2 separate regions of the Homo sapiens genome follow, and region 1 is linked to region 2. Evidence: promoter capture Hi-C in human tissues and cell types (Jung and others, 2019). All regions are on one chromosome and are shown on one strand. Each heading gives the region's core, a stretch centred on a gene start or on the middle of the fragment in contact. The rest is flanking DNA. Distances are from core to core; before and after follow the strand shown. Region 1 overlaps LOC105369583 (a long non-coding RNA gene). Region 2 holds the start of B3GAT1 (beta-1,3-glucuronyltransferase 1).

Region 1 (5,148 bases), core at 2,113-4,612, 230 kb before region 2:
TAGACTTGATGTGGCCAGAGGGAAAGTCATAAAGCCTCTTGTCTCAGCTCATCATCATGTTCACTCTTAATTTTCTTTGCCTTATTATCTATAAATCCCTCTCATTACATAGTGACCCCTTAATAAAACTTCATTTTTCTCCCCACCTCCATCTCCCCAGCACCACCCCTCCCCTTCTGCACCTGGAGCCCAGGAGAGGAGGCTCAGAGTGAGCCTGCATCTCCAGGGAAGAATGCCAGTCCCAGGAGCTGCCTCCTTCCTAGCCCTTGCTCCCTGAAGTCCCAGAACCCAGGGTGCCCACCACAGGGCTTGCCACTGTCCCCTGGGTGGCCTGCCTGGCAGAGCAGGACAGGAGCTGCCAGGGGCCTCTCTGCAGCCTCCTTTCTTGGGTGTCAGAGGCACATCAGGTGGGGAAGGGAGGGTGGGACTCAGGCATACAGGGCTGTGGGTCCTGGTGGGCAGAAACCTTCCTGCAGGGGTGGGATTGAGCTCACACACCCCTGACATGCCTGTCCCAAAATCCTGACTCCTGTCACTCCTGGGGTTGCCCATCCAGCACATTCAGGACTGTTAGACAAAGCAGGACTGGAGCCCCTTCCACAGTCAGGCAAGCCTGCTTGGCACCATGCATGCGCCTTAATTAGAACAAATAGCCTTAGACACACAATAAAATAAAAAATTGATGATTCAGTGACAGATAATCGTTTGCAAGAAACAACAGATGCCTGTACAATGAAGATATATTTCATGTTTTTTTTTAAAGCACATTTAACTAACTGAATAATGCATTATAATGATTATGCTGATATTTCTAAATATGTTAAGAATTTATAATAAAATCTTTCCTCTGAGGATGCCAAGCTTTACTTAATTGGTGATGAAGTTGACACAGAAGGGGTGCAGGCTCTTTCCACACACACCACCACAGCCTCTGAGAGGGCACACGGAGGAAAATGCCTGTGGTGCCTGGGAGACGAGGAGCAGCGCCTGCCTGGAGTTGGATGCAGGCCACAGAAACCTACCCTGGGTGGTGACACATGAGATCAATAACATGTGATCCATTCGAGGGTGAGAGAGGACCGGCTATTCCCTAAATCCCTTAAGGACAGAGAAAGAGACTATTGGCCTGGGCTGTAGATAAGGAGAAAGTCCCCCTGTGGCCAGGAGTTGAGGGGCAAGATCCTACCCCTGACACCCAGCTGGCCAAGGACGTCTTTAGCCAGGACCTGCCTGGGATAGGGGAGGGAACGGGAGAAACGAGGAGGTGCCGCAACAATTCTGCCTCAGGCCCCAGTGGAGTCACTGGACTTATCCACCTGTCATGAGCAACTAGACCTCTGGACATCATGAACAAAACAACCCTTTGTAGACATTGGGCAAGAGGGTGAGGAGCTTACTACCAGCATCTAAACCCACTGAGCCATAAGCTGCTGAGCTGATGGGGAAGGCCTGCATCCTCTCCCTAGGCTGCTCCAGCGGGGGCTGCTCCCCCAACAGAGTGGCCAGGCTGTGTGGGCATAATCCGTGCCATTACCCAGCTGGACACTGCTGTCTTAAGAGGTCTCCCAGATATAAGCTTATTAATTTTGTTAATTTTGCAATGACCTAATTATAACTACTTAAAGGCAGAAGATCAGTTCTTGTCATTTGATGGTGAAAATCAGAATTGCTTCCTCTCCAAATCTTTCATTCCTCTTAATACAAATCAGTATTCTCACCATCGCCTACAAGGGCCAAGGCCACCTGGTCTGGGCTCCTGTATGTGTTCAGCCTCAGTCTGAAGCCAGCCCCTGCTGACAACGTGCACACCCACGTGCCTGTCTCCCAAGTCCCACACGTGTGGTTGGATCTGAATCCACAGCAGGTCAAACGTGTCTCTTCTGGTTCATTTCTCACTGGAGCTATCGACAGCTGGTGAAGTGCTCCTGGCATCAAAATTAGCAGATTATTCAAGGAAGATATTAAGTTGGCTCAGATTTCCCGCTTCGAGGCCAAGATATCAATGTTGCATAGCCAGGAGCTCTCGAGTTTATTTGGAGCTGCTTGAAGCTCTAGTTCACAGATAGGCACAGGAAGGGAGAGGTGACTGGGCTTGGAGCTGTCTTCCTCACCCCAGACTGCCAGGCCTGCATCACTGGGGCCATCAGCTCCCCTGACAGGCTCACAGAGTGCTGGGCTTCTGTAGCCATCTGAGGTTTAGATAGACCAGGAGAGAACAGAGCCCGAGAGAGGGGTGGAGCAATGCTTTTGGAGGGCTTCTTATGCAGCAGACACAAGCCTAGAGGCTTGATATCCCCAAGCCCAGTTTGACACGGAGGCTCCGAGGTGCAGAGGGGTTAGGTCACTGGCCCAGGGTCCTGCGTGTCTAGCGTGGTAGAGAGGGTGTAAGGCAGAGGCCTGAGTGCCCGGGCAGCAGGTGCTGCTGTGTGTGTGTGAGGGAGCCAGTCCCCGCGGATCCCTCAGCTGGAGAGGAGTCCCTCCCCAGAACACAGGCAGCTGAGCTGAAACCGGGAACCTCGGAAACCCGGACACAGTTAGGTTAGTGGGAGGTTTTGTTGACTTTTATACTTACTTCATTATAGAAACATCCACATTACATGAGAGTAGAAAGAAGAGTGAAGGGTGTTCAGCCTCAGCCTCTGTACCTCCCCCGGCTCATGCCTGGCTTCTTTCATCTCCCCACCCTCAGATCTCTCCTCAGAGATTTTCTAGCAAATTCCAGGCATTACAATTTTACCTGAAAGTACTTCCTCATGTATTTTTAATAAATAAACATATTTAGCCCATAACTGCACTTCTACAATTATATCTAACAAGATTTCTAACAATTAAACTAATACTTGGCTTATGCTCAAATTTCTTGAGGTTTTCAAAAAAGTGGGGAGAGGGACCTTCTTACAGTCACTGTGTTTCAATCAGGTTTTATCCAGGGCCTACACACACCGGCTGCTTTCTTTACACCTGTCACACCTGCATTCCCCTCTTCCCATGCAGTTTATTCTGTTCAAGAAACTAGGTCATTTATTTCTGCAGAATTTCCCACGTTCTAGATTTAGCCAGGAAGAAATTAAACTTCCATGTAACCAGGGCGCTCAAATCGTCGGGATGAGAGCCTAGTTTGTGGCTGCTTTGCAGGGTTGTTTCTTAGACAGCGCTACAATCTCGTTACGTTGTGTCAGATGTTGTCGTGGGGGCTTTTAGATGTGCCGTCTAAAGTCAGGAAGGAAACAGAGAGTGACTGGTAATTGTCATGACAATGACCAGGACAGTAGTAACTATGCAGTGAGTGATTACCCTGTGCCGGCTCTTTGCTAAATACTTCACAGGCATGTTTTTACTCAAGTCCATTCTCATTTTACAGAGGAGGAAGTTGATGAACAAAAACTAAACAAATGACTTGCCCCAGGGCACACAGCTCGTCATTTGAACCAAAGCTGGAATTCGAACGCAGGTCTGTCTCACTGCAAAGCCGCCCCCTCTTCTCCAACCCTCTGTGGGATTTGGTGACTTGAGTGCAGGGGAGCGTCCACCAGCGACCCTGCGGGACAGAAGATAAGTGAATGGGGAGGTTTTGTTAAGAAAGCCTGGGTGCCAGAGAGACAACCGGGAAAACTCCTTACGACCTGTTTAGGAAAAGCTTTCTCAAAGCGGGAGCTGTTCCGGGGAGGAGGAGAGAGGATGCATGTGGTCTGGGTACGGGTGTGGGGCAGAGAGTGTTGCCCAGCCCTCTCTCATTCGTGACATGCATATGTGGAGAGTGTGAGCACTGCAAGGCACCAGGGCATGCTGGCATCCCTCCATGGGGCTGCTACTTGCTGCCGAAGGGGGCCAGCTGGGGAGGCCCATGGCAGTCCCAGTCTCCACCTGCAAAGGGGAGGAATCCACATCTCAGCCCAGGTGTGAACCAGCTCTCAGAGCAACAGGCTGCCATGGCACCCCCCGTCAGAAAGTCCCAATGTTGGCTGTGTGATTAGTGCTCGAGTATGTAGAGTGTTCAAGCTGGAATGGAGGGAGAAGCCAGGAGCCACGGTGGGAAAGATCATGTCTTCAAGTGACCGAGGGAGCTGAAAAGCGCAGTTTCAGCATCAGAATGATTGTAGCTCTTCCTGGATTCTCCTCCACTGGAAAAAGTGTTGCTGTTGGGATCAGAGGACCTGGCTTTGTGTCTGGTCTTTAGCATTTACTAAACCTTAGAATGCTCATTTAAACTCCCTGAGCTTCCATCTTCCCACCTCCATCATGAGAACAGCACCTTGAGAACTCACTGAATAGGCCCTTCTGCAGGGTCTCCGACGTGCCGCAGGGTCTCCGACGTGCTGCACTGTGCTGGGACCTGGGAAGGAAAGGCTCTGACAGTCATTCTCATTCCTGCCATCTCCCTGATGCAGAAGACAACATTTCAGGAAAGTTTAAATAAAAAAAATATACGTATGAAACTGGTTTACAAACTACTGCTCAATACCAAACCACGAGTGGCAGTACTGCGAGTATTGAGTGAGTCTCAAAGCCTGAGTCTCTCATCCCACACAGTGCTTGGTTCACTGTGGAAGGTGCAGGAAGAGGGAGAGGCTCCTTATCCTGTAGGGGTCACAGTCATGTACAGGAGATGACCACATGCCCAGATGGCAATGACACCTGGCCAGAGGAGGAAAGTGCCGCAATGCAGCTACGAACCAATCCCAAGCTGCCAAGAGGCTGGAATGCTGTGTTCAAAATGGGAGGGGCAGGTGTATCAGGAAGCTTCACCTTTGGATTGTGTCCAGGAGTTTGAGATTTCAACATAGAGTGCCTAGAAAAGTGGGTTTTTAGAGGAGAGAACCTTCTGTCATTCCAGGATTGAGACTGAGAAATGAGCCAGCCTCCTGGAAAGAAGGCTGGAGAAGCCATATTAGGAGCCCAGGGGCTGGGCTCATTTGCACCAAGCCAGAGTGCACCTCAGACCGAGCCGTTGCTGATGTCTGCAGGTGCCAGTTGTTCTCCAGCATTGCCAAGCCTGCCCCCCAACTGACAGGAGGAGCTGGAAGGGGGATCTGGGCAGCAGAGATTCTCGGGAGACTCTGGGCCACACAGCAGGAGATGCTATTTATGGGAAAGAAAAGCTACCCAATGCCTTGGGTGCTGTTTCCAGAAAGTTCTCTGGTCATGGCA
Region 2 (5,100 bases), core at 558-3,057:
TGTGTTTCCCTGTTGGTAAAATGAGGGTCTGGAACGAGACAGTCTTCACGGTCATTTCTGTCCTCCCATTTGGTGATTGTGTGACTGCGGCTGGCTGGCTTAGCAGAGGAGGGAGGCAATGTGCCCTCCTGGACGGCCTGGCCCCTCCTTGGTGCTCTCTGGTACCCCCGCCCATCCTGCTTCTGCACCTGCCCTTCCCCTCCCTTCAGCTGGTGTGGAGTCTAAGGAGAAGCAGAGTATGGAGACTAGGAAAATACCAGAGAACACCGACTTAGGAAAGGTCTCTTAGCAGAGTCTAAAAGAGAGGGTTGTAGTAGGGGCAGAAGAAGGCGGAGCAAGGCTGGCTGGGATTCCACTCATTAAGAGAAGGGGGAAATGCTCCTGTACCGCAGCAGGAGGTACTGAGGTTAGATTCAGAGGAAGTTTCTTGCCGGCAAAGGGGGCTGTTAAGCACAACAATGAAAGAGCGCACGACAAGGAGGAGCAGTTATCCCTAGAGATAGTCACTAAGGACACTTTCACATGTCTGTGGCATGATACGGACGGTGAGGTGCCTTCCTCCCCTCAAAATCTTGACCAAAGGGGCTGATTCTGGAGTCTCTGCCCCCTCCCCACCTGCACATCCTCAGTGGGAAGAGCAGGGCCCGGCTTGGTCCTAACAGGGCAGGAAAGCTGATGGAAAAGAGGCCCGTGGTCCTCAGCCCCAGCCCATAGCACGGGGGCACAGCTCTGGTTAAGCAGTGCCTAGCAGTGGGGCTGGAACTGGTTTCCCGGGAAGGAGGGAGACCCTAGAGAAAGTACCGACAGTCCCTGGTCCCGCCGCGAACCCCGCCATGGGAGGTGGCCTTCTCCTGGGGCTGTGAAGAGGACACAGCGGGTGTGGCCCGAATACAGGTGTCCAAGAGCACCGGGAGATGCCAACCTCTAAAACGAGTGCAAGGATGGCTTCAAAGTCTCCGACAAGCTGAAGGAGTATCTGGAATATACAGCTCCACAGAGGCACCCTACCAGTGCACCCACATACGTCCAAGTGCGCGCCCACTCACTGGCCTCCGTCCCCCGCCGACCAACACACCGCGGCAGAGGCCCGGGAAACTCCTGGAGATCCCGCTGCCCCCGGCCTCCCCGCGCCCGTCCGCCCACGCAGGCCTCCCGGGCCTCTCTCCGGAACGCCGGGTGCACCGGCCCGGAAGGGGAGGCTGGGGTGAGGCTGACGCGCGGCGGCTCGAGGTGCCCTTCCACGGGGCAGCAGACCCCGTACCCCGGCACGGCACCGTCCGCCCCCACCGGCCACCTCCCATCCGGGGTGCCTGGAGCCAAGGAAGGAGCCGCATCCCCCACCGGCTTCCCAGCTCGGCCTCTCGGTCCCAGAGCGCCGCCCCCCGCCCTCCTGCAGCAGCCCGGCCGGAAACAATCACCCTTTGAGAGAGGCTGCCAAGCTGGGCGCCAGGAGCAGCCAGGATGGAGGCGGGGTGGAATGGGGGTGCAGGCGGGGGCCGAGCTTTAACTCTCGAGAGCCGAGATCTGGGGGTGCGCTCGGCCCCTGCCCGCCACCCCTGCTCCGCCGCCTGAAGCGGGAGCCGCCTCCGCGGGGGACGGTGCCGGGGGAGGGTGGGGGGCGGTGGGGAGGTGATACCAATCCCGGGGGGGGGTCCCCTCGCCGGCCTCCCTCCTCGCGCCCCCGCCTAGGCTGGCGAGGTTGGTACCGACCATTAGCAGCTCGGGTCCCGCCGGCGCTGGCGCGGGCTCGGGGCGGGGGCGGGGCGGGGGCGGAGAGCGGGTGGGGGCGGGGCGGGAGGCGCCGGCAGAGCCGCGGCGGCACCGGCGCATCCGCCGCCACCTCGGGGACTCTGCGCCGGCCCGGTCGGCTCGGCTCCGGCCGCGCGCCCCCCTCGCCCCTCTCGCCCCCGCGCCCGCTCCCCGCTCCCCCTCCCCGCTCCCCCTCCCCGCCCCCCGCCCCCCGCCTCCCTGCCCGCGCCCTCCCTCCCGCGCGCTCCCAGCCTTCGGCCGCCGCCTCGCTGAGCCCAGAACGAGCCGGGCCGGGGCGGCGGGGCCGGGCGGGGCGGGCGGGCGCGCGGACCCCGCGGCTATGAAGTGGCCCCCGGGGGCCCGGAGCCCGACAGTCCCCGGGGAGGGAGCCGCACGCGGCCCAGGGCAGCGGTCTAGGGGCGCCGGGGCCGGGGCGTAGGGGCCGTTGCCCGCGATGGACCGCACCGGAGACGCTCCGGACTCGTCGCCGCAGGTCAGTGCTCCCCGCGCCCCCGCGGGCGCCCCGCCGCGCACAGAGCCCCTTTCTGCGTCCCCATCGGTGCCCACGCCATGTCCTCCCGGGCGCGCGCTGGGGTGTGTGTGTGTGTGTGTGTGTGTGTGTGTGTGTGCGCTGCGCGCGCTGGGGGCAGCTGGAAAGGGGGCCGAGAACCGAGCTCGGGCTGGGAGGCGCTGCTGCCGAGGGGCTGCGAAACAAAACCCGGCACAGCCTGCCCTCGTCGACCGGGATTAGGGGAAGAGCTGGTTCTCAGCAGCTTCTAACAATCGGCCCGGGCTCTCAGTCGTCAGTTCCCGGCCCCCTCAGCAGGTGGTTTCTGGTGGCCGGATGAGGAGTCAGGGGTCAGTCGTCCCCCACCTCCCCACCCCTGCTGCCCAACAGCGCTCTCTGGATCGCTCTCTGGCTCCTGGGCACTGCCAAGTTAACTCTCTTGAGGGGGCCCGAGCTCTGCGGGGCGCGCTGAGGGACCCAGGGGTAGCAAGGGTGGCAAAGGGCCCTTGGGACCTTCGGTGTAGCAAGGAGGAAGGAGGCGCGACCAGTTCACCACCCTCCCATCTGCACCTGGGCTCAGGTCTGAGGTCCCAATCCCTCCAAAGTCAGAGCACACAACTTCCAGAAAAAGGAGGCTGAGAGTTGAGGCAGGAAATAGAGAAGGAAGCCACCAGGTCCGACAGTGCCAGGGTAAGGAGGTGACAGCCCCGTACCAAGCAGCTAAGGTCAAGAACCACCCCCACATGCACACACATGGGAGCCTTGGCCAACTTCCCTGTCCCCTTCCTCCCCCAGCCAGGCCTAGCTGCATGGATTCTTGTAGAAGCTGGAGCTGAAGGACTCTGGACATACAGGAAGGGGACCTTTACTGACAGTTGCTAGCCCAGTGCATGGGCACCTGCATAGGTGGGGTGCCCAATGGGGCCTAGAGCTTGGGCTGTGTAGCACGCACTGTTGAAAATGTTGGGGTACGGATGTCGTAGGGCCTAGCACTGTGCAATGCCTGGATGTGTTTGTGTGGAAATGGGAGGCACATCACTCCCTAAGTTACTAGGGCTGTGGGGCATGTGGCTGCACAGGACTGTTGTTCTAGGGTTTTCTAAGATTTGTCTTCTGTGCTTATGTCGCCCTACCTCTGCTGGTAGCCACTGCAGAGACTGAGACATTTCCTCCCAGAGTCTGCTCAGTTGGTGACCATTAATGGCCTTACTGGACCAAACATCAAGCCTTCCCTTTCTTCCCATGGGGTGAAGACCCTTTCCCAGGGTCTTCAGACAGACTTCTCACTCTGCCCAGTCCATGCCCAGCACTGCCAAAGGTTCCAGAGCTTAGAGACATTTTCCCTCTTCCCCTTTTCATGGAAGCAGAAATACTTGCTAAGGTTAATGGGACTGGGAGAGTTAATGCATCTGTGCCCCATTCAGCACTGGAGCCAGGAGCTCGCTGTTCCTGTTTCTGTGCCTGACCCCAGGATGCTTGGGGATCACTCCAGGTCCAGGTGAGCTGGAAGCTTGCAGGCGCTGTGTTGAATATGTGTGTGTAGGTTTCTGGTTGGGCAGTTACTCACTGTTCCACCAGAAGCAGGGGGCAGGTAAATCACTGAGGAGATAAGCTCCAGCAACAGGATTGGAGCCCGTGGCGGAGACCAAGGAGCTTCACAGGAGGATGCCCTGGGGCAAGCCCAGTTCCTCAGCTTCGGCTTCTGGGGAGACCTGAAGGTTCTCTTAGTGGTTTCTCGGGGATAAGGGGACCAAGTCAGATATACTTTTCCTAGGTGTGGAGCACAGGGTGATGAGGCCGGCCAGGAGCTGGGAGTGTGAGATGGGGAAGAGGATGCACCAACCGAAAGGCTGAGCGGACAGGAGCATGGTGCTCCATTGTTTCTGGAAGAGAGGGATGAGTGTTCCTCTCTGATGAGAATGGAGAGGAGGAGAGGAACGGGCTCAGGAGGAGGAGGAATCCGAGAGAGAGCCTGACTGAGGCAGAGAAAGAGGCAGTGAGACAAGAGACAAAGGCACGGAGGCGCACTGGCGGACAGCAGAGGGAGGCACACAGGCAGAAGTCAGGGCCTCCCTGACTGAGTGGTGAGTTGGGGCAGGCTGGGGGCCTCCCCCTGTTCCCCTACATCGACCTCAGCAATTGTCCACCCCTGCAGGAGGCCCCTCACTAGAGCAGTTGGACATTCTACTGAGGAAGGTGCTTTCCTGTGGCTCTCAGGAATGTGAGGGTCTTTTAGACAGAAGCCCAAAGGCAGAGGGAGGCCAGGCTATGAGGTCAAGCACATCAAGAGCTTGCAGGGACTTTCAGGGACACCCTTCACCCCTGAGCATCTCACAATGCTGAGGGCTCCTCTCCATCTTCTGGCCCTGCCCCAGCCCTCCTGGTCCTGGAATGCAGGGCAGTGGGGAAGGATGTGGGGTCTGGGGAAACCTGGCACTCAGGAGAAGAAGAGAAGTCATGCACCCCCTCCCCAGGCCCCCAGGCAAAAAGACCTTTGGGGACCCTACTGAAGACTAGCCAGGGGACATGGAAGAAGTGCAGTGGGGACAGGCCCTTGGCCAGGCTGTCTGAGGTCCAGTCTCATCTCCATCTGTGGCTAGCCGAGTAGACTTTGAAAAAAACAGAGCTCTCTAAGCCCCGGCTTCCTGGCAGTCTATAAATTGGGAAACTGTCATCTCACCAGTTTTTAGAAGAAATACTAGATGAATTTTAATTTAATCTATTTATTTTATACACCCTCACCCCCTTGCTTCCAGGATGAGGATGGCTCTAGAATTTGGAGTAGCAGCGTCAGGCCAGCCCTGGAGCCAATCCCACTGGAATCGGTGCAGGCTGTCCCACCT

What was found. Contacts are between HindIII fragments. The study calls those that stand out against the background at their distance.
Region 1: a contact is called between a fragment that was not itself captured here and the fragment with the promoter of B3GAT1 in region 2, in 4 of the 25 tissues and cell types used here (H1 embryonic stem cells, IMR-90 fibroblasts, dorsolateral prefrontal cortex and 1 more).

What each region holds. Positions count from the first base shown.
Region 1 is chr11:134,641,940-134,647,087 of GRCh38, reverse strand. LOC105369583 (a long non-coding RNA gene) reads right to left here. Exons shown (of 3, transcript XR_948212.3): 2 at 4,266-5,148; 3 at 668-3,538. Among named protein-coding and RNA genes, the nearest start is that of LINC02706, 68 kb to the left of the region's middle. The HindIII fragment of the contact is 4,286 bases long and covers 1,220-5,148 here.
Region 2 is chr11:134,408,949-134,414,048 of GRCh38, reverse strand. B3GAT1 (beta-1,3-glucuronyltransferase 1) reads left to right here and starts at 1,807. Exons shown (of 6, transcript NM_054025.3): 1 at 1,807-2,242. RefSeq lists an enhancer at 2,659-3,218. The HindIII fragment of the contact is 21,477 bases long and covers 1-5,100 here.